Regions from separate parts of the Homo sapiens genome. Here region 2 is linked to region 1. Evidence: promoter capture Hi-C in 16 types of primary human blood cells and fetal thymus (Javierre and others, 2016). All regions are on one chromosome and are shown on one strand. Each heading gives the region's core, a stretch centred on a gene start or on the middle of the fragment in contact. The rest is flanking DNA. Distances are from core to core; before and after follow the strand shown. Region 1 holds the start of CPN2 (carboxypeptidase N subunit 2). Region 2 overlaps LOC105374284 (a long non-coding RNA gene).

The links. The method cuts DNA at HindIII sites, captures the fragments that hold promoters and counts their contacts. A CHiCAGO score of 5 or more calls a contact.
Region 2: a contact is called between a fragment that was not itself captured here and the fragment with the promoter of CPN2 in region 1, in 1 of 17 cell types (M2 macrophages). The highest score is 6.1, in M2 macrophages.

What each region holds. Positions count from the first base shown.
Region 1 is chr3:194,350,033-194,352,732 of GRCh38, forward strand. It overlaps CPN2 (carboxypeptidase N subunit 2), which reads right to left and starts at 1,296. Exons shown (of 2, transcript NM_001080513.4): 1 at 1,210-1,296. RefSeq lists an enhancer at 772-1,621. The HindIII fragment of the contact is 6,903 bases long and covers 1-2,700 here.
Region 2 is chr3:193,833,405-193,836,104 of GRCh38, forward strand. LOC105374284 (a long non-coding RNA gene) reads right to left here. Exons shown (of 4, transcript XR_924841.3): 2 at 235-348. Among named protein-coding and RNA genes, the nearest start is that of LINC02038, 9.3 kb to the right of the region's middle. RefSeq lists an enhancer at 1,526-1,585. The HindIII fragment of the contact is 2,760 bases long and covers 44-2,700 here.

The DNA.
Region 1 (2,700 bases), core at 46-2,545:
CTCAGGTGATCCGCCTGCCTCGGCCTCCCAAAGTGCTGGGATTACAGGCGTGAGCCACCGCGCTCGGCCCTTTCTTGGGTCCTCGGATCCCTCTTGTACTGTGTTGAATGTTTGGGCTCTTCCGCTCTGTTTTCTAGTCAGTTGCACCCACCCGACTGAGCCCGTGGTACTGCAGTCTTGCTGTGGTGTCTCTGCAAGCAGCTCTGCACCCCAGCACCTGGCTCGGGGCCAGGCACTGAGAAGGCAGTCAGGCCCTGTGTGCTGAATTGAAGGAATGTGTTTGTGGCTTTCAGTGACTTCGCATCTCAGGCCTTACTCTCATCCTGCTTAGTAGCAGGGGAAAGCACTTTAGCTCCGCCAGTGCCCCCAGCTGGGATCAGATTCTGACGCCATCACCTACTAGCGGTGTGGGCTTGTGCAAATCACTCCAACTCTCTAAGCCTCAGGTTTTCCAGACTTAATTATCACCTCTGCCCTCAGAGTTCAAATTAGCACTCCATTGGATGATAAATAGGCTAAATAAGATAGTAAATAGAAAGCCCTTAACACAGCGCCTGGCACATACTGAATGTTCAATAAAAGGTGGCCCCCTGCAGGTTTATTTCACCACAAACTTTATTATATGAGCCAGCACGCTTCTGGGAAGGAAACCAGGAGCTAGTCATCCTTGGGCCTGAGCTGGGTGCTGTGGCATGCGCTTGTAATCCCAGCTACTCAGCAGGCTGAGTGGGAGGATCGCTTGAAGCCAGGAGTTCAAGACCAGCCTGAGCAACATAACAAGACCCCCATCTCAAAAAACAATAATTATATTAATAAATAATTAATAATATTTAGTATTAATATAGGATTAATAAGTAATTAGTAATACTATTTATTATTATTATGCCAAGATGACAAGTATAAACTAGGCAGAACCAGGCCAACCTGGACATCTGGTCACCCTGCTTATCCTCTACTCACTACCAGCCTTGTAGGCCAGGACTGGCAGATCTTCATCTCACAAACCCCCGCCCCACCTTCCTCCTGCCTCTTCCCAGCAGCGCCCTAGCTGAGCACCTCAGGGACTTCTCCTCCCGGGGCAGGGGCCCCCCAGAACCGCAGCCTGCCTGGAGCTGCGGAATGCTCTGAAACGGGGGAGATCGCAAGTTCCCGTTCCTGCCCCCACGTCCCTGCAGACCCTGGAGCCCTTCAGCGACCCCGGGAGCCTACCGTGAGGGCCGAGCGGGTGGCGCCGGGCTGCCCTGTCTTCCTCAGGAGCAGAGAGGAGTCTGGTGTGGCCTGTGGTCAGCTCAATCCAGCCCCAGCGCTGATCAAAGTTCCAGGCAGTGGTTCCTCCCCTCACGTGGCCCCAGCGTCCCAGAATGTCACCAGGGTCACAGGACGGGAGAGGGCCTTGGCAAGGCCTCTGAAGATTACAAAATGACCCTGAACTCCTCCCATGTACAGAGCCCTGCCGGGGCCAAAATCCCACCGAGGTTGCAGGGTTGGCACCTTCAGGACCCCGAGGACACTCAGAAAGCTCTAGAGATTCCCGCAGGCGGCTGGGTTGGTGAGGCCTGGGATGGGGTCCACGCTCACACCCATACCTGTGAGCAGAGGCAGAGGGACTGGGAGCCTGCCTTCAGCCTCAGGCCCCTGCTGGGCTCTCAGCGCCCGGAGGCATTTCAAGAGGGCTGTGGATTTGTTGTTTTGTCTTGTTGTGTTTGTTTGCTTGTTTAATGAATGAACTTTCTAAACCCTTCCTGAATTAGAAGGGGGAAAAGCTATAGGGAGATGAATTGGGGCCCAATATGGAGAGGAGCGCTCACACACTCAGGGCTGGCCGAGGACGAAAGATGCTGCTTTGGAAGGGAGGGATTTTCCCATCTCCGGAGGTGTGGAACCAGGGCTGCAAGACACACGGAGTGTGTGTGTGCTGAGTGCGTGCATCTGGGGGTGTGCATGTAAGTGGGTGTAAATGTGAGTGGCTGTAGGGGGTGTGTGGTGAGTGCATGTGTGGGGGTGTGTTGTGTGTGTAAGTGGGTGTATGTGTGAGTGGGTGTGTGCGCGCGTGGGTAGGGTGTGTGTGTGGTGAGTGCGTGTGTGGGTGCGTGTGTGGGTGTATGTGTGAGTGGGTGTAGGGGTGTGTGTGGTGAGTGCGTGTGTGGGGGTGTGGTATGTAAAGAGGGTGTATATGTGAGTGGGCGTGTGTATGTGAGTGTAGGAGTGTGTGTGGTGAGAGCACATGTGTGATGTGTGTGTAAGTGGGTGTATGTGTGAGTGGGTGTAAAGGTGTGTGTGGTGAGTGCGTGTGTAAGTGGGTGTAGGGGAGTGTTTGGTGAGTGCATGCGTGTGGGTGTGGGGTGTGTGTGTGTAAATGGGTATATGTGTGAATGGGTGTAGCGGTGTGTGTGGTGAGTGCGTGTGTAAGTGGGTGTATGTGTGAATGGGTATGTAAGTGGGTGTAGGGGAGTGTTTGGTGAGTGCGTGCGTGTGGGTGTGGGGGGTGTGAGTGGGTATATGTGTGAATGGGTGTAGGGGTGTGTGTGGTGAGTGCGTGTGTGTAGGTGTGCAGTGTGTGTAAGTGGGTGTATGTGTGAGTGGGTGTGTGTAAGTGGGTGTAGGGGTGTGTGTGGTATAAGTGGGTGTGTATATGCATGAGTATGTCTCGTGTGTGTAGAATGAGAGTGTGTGAGAAAATGTGTGGTAAGTGGGTGTGAG
Region 2 (2,700 bases), core at 174-2,673, 520 kb before region 1:
CTCTGCTTTCAAATGGCCCTTTGCCTCCTTCCACAGATCTCTAAGCTTTACTTCTTTCCAGTGAACCTTGTGAAGTCCTTCTAACGCTTTCTGATGAACTCTGGCCTCTATGTTTTCAGAGATTTCTACATCCAGCTATACTATGCTGACAAAGATGTTTCCTGAGCATCTATTAAGTGCTGTGCAAGACTCTGGTGATAAGGACACATAGCTCTGCCCGCAAAGGGTACTCACAGTCTAGTGTTGGGGGCAGAATCAATCATGTACGCAGGTGACGATTGCACACCCAGAGGAAGATGCACGGCGTGGTGAAGTTCAAAGACGGGAGAGATGTTTCTGCCTGGTGGGCTGGGGAGGGATGAAGATCGGCATGGTCATGTCATAGTGAAGGCGGGACTGGACTCAGGCCTCATGGGCAGATGTGGACCGTCACACATGGCAGGAAGGGCACTCTAGATGCAGGCAACAGCAGAAGCTAGCGCCATGAGGCAAGGAAAGCACAGCTTTCTACAGGGCTAGGGGAGTCGATTGCATGAGGGGAGGACTCATGGGTGTGGGATCATGAGAGGCAAGACTGACCAGGTGAGGAACAGGGCCCTTCAGAGAAAAATACCAGTCTGGTTTCAATCAGAGCTATCCTGGTGTACCTAAGTGTTTGAGCTCCTACAAGGCAGGGTCTAGCCACTACTCAGTTTATAAACAGGTCAGCGCCTAGAACTGTGATCTGAACAGTGCGGATGCTCAGAGAGGCTCTGCCTCATGTCCCTGCAGGAGGCAGAAGAACTGGGGCCGAGGACTGGTGGTTAGGCCTGGAATGTTCATTCTCTCTCCCTTTCTTCAGGCCATTCCCTTGCTTCTTCCCATCGGTCACTTCCAAATCTCCATCTTCAAGTTCCAACTCAAAAGCTACCCTGCCCTAATGCCTTCTCAGCAACCCAGCCAGGAAAGCACTGCTGCTCCTTTGGAACCTGGGAGCTTCCTTAGAACGGTCCCTTGCATCTCCTGCACCCCCAGGCAATCCCACCCCACTCAGTATGTGTCTGTGCAGCAGCCCATCCCACCTTTCAGAGTGAAAGGTTTTTAAGCATCTCTCAGCACCTCTTCCCTTCCTGATATCCTCCAGGACCCTAACACAGCAACCACCTCATATTACATGCACAAGAGTGCAAGCTGCCTGAGACGGTCACCTTAAAAAGAGGCCACACTCCTTCCTGGGACCCAAGAGCAGTGTGCAAGAGGTGGTGTGAGGTCGCGGGTGGGGCCTGGGACAGCCTCTGGCATGAACTGGGACTGCACTTATCTGACTCTGTGCCTACTTGGCATCTGCCTGTGCCCTCAGGAAAAGCCTGTATCATGATGGCTGATTGCTGATAAGAGGGGGTAGAGCATGCTCTATTCACCTGACTCCCAGCACAGTCAAACCTGCAACCACTGCTCTGAATCACCCAGGAAAGTCCCACTTCCACCTTGTGTTTTTTTGACCTCTCCTTCGCGTGCATTAAAAGCACCAGGAGCAAGGCCGGTGAGGTGTCTCACACCTATAATCCCAGCACTTTGGGAGGCTAAGGCAGCCGGATCACGAGGTCAGGAGTTCGAGACCAGCCTGGCCAACATGGTGAAACCCCATCTCTACTAAAATACAAAAAAATTAGCCAGGCATGGTGGTGCATGCCTGTGGTCCAACAGCTCGGGAGGCTGAGGCAGGGGAATCACTTTTGGACCCAGGAGATGGAGGTTGCAGTGAGCTAAGATCATGCCACTGCACTCCAGCCTGGGTGACAGAGCAAGACTCCGTCTCAAAAAAAAGAAAAAAAAAGGCACCAGGAGCCAAAAAATATAGATGCCAGGGTGCTGGAAGAGCTCAGTGGAAATGTGAGCAGAGGGAACCTCTTTCTTGGTAGGATTTTGGGGTACACAGTTTTTTTCCTCTGAGGCAGATTCTCCTTACTCCAAATTGGGTGCCATGAGTCATAAGGAGCCATCTCTCTCTGATGATTTACAAACATCTCAACTCATTCTTTGCTTCTTAAAATTGGAGCGAGCTATCAAATGGCTTTATGAGGTATTCATCGAGCATCTCTATGTGCCCAGGGGTGTTGTTGAGGCTTTAGGGTTTACAACAGAATTTCAGCCCCAACCTGCCATTCAAGCCTCAACTCCAAGTGCACCTGCCGTGCTTCAGTGTCCCGGACGAGGCCTGCGGCAGCCACATGGGGCTGCCATCTTTTCTCACTCTGCCTACAAAGTCCCACCACCAGCCAGGATTCTGCTCAAGCTGTTGTCTCCACCTGGAATCCTCTTCCACCCCCATCTGCTTATTAAATTCCCAATAACCTACTTATTCTAAGGAATCCTGCCCACCCTCTTGTAAGGCCCAGCTCTAAGTTAACTGTTACTGGGAGACTGTACAGTTTCTCCCAGTCAGAACTCCACTGCCCCCACCACCTCTCTCATGGCAGAGTTCTGTGTCCCTCTCCAGGCACCGTCTGGAGTCTCCAATAAAGACTCTTTCCCATACAGAGGACTTGTCAGTGCGGTGAAGACAGAGACCAATACCCCAGAGATGAGGAGACCCAAGTGCTGGTCTAGTCTGACCTGGCAGTCGGTGACCTTGGACCCAGGGTCTTCAACTTTAGCCTGTTTTCCCATCTGCGGATGAGAGGCTTGTCCAGAGTAGGATTCCCAATCTGGATTCTGCCT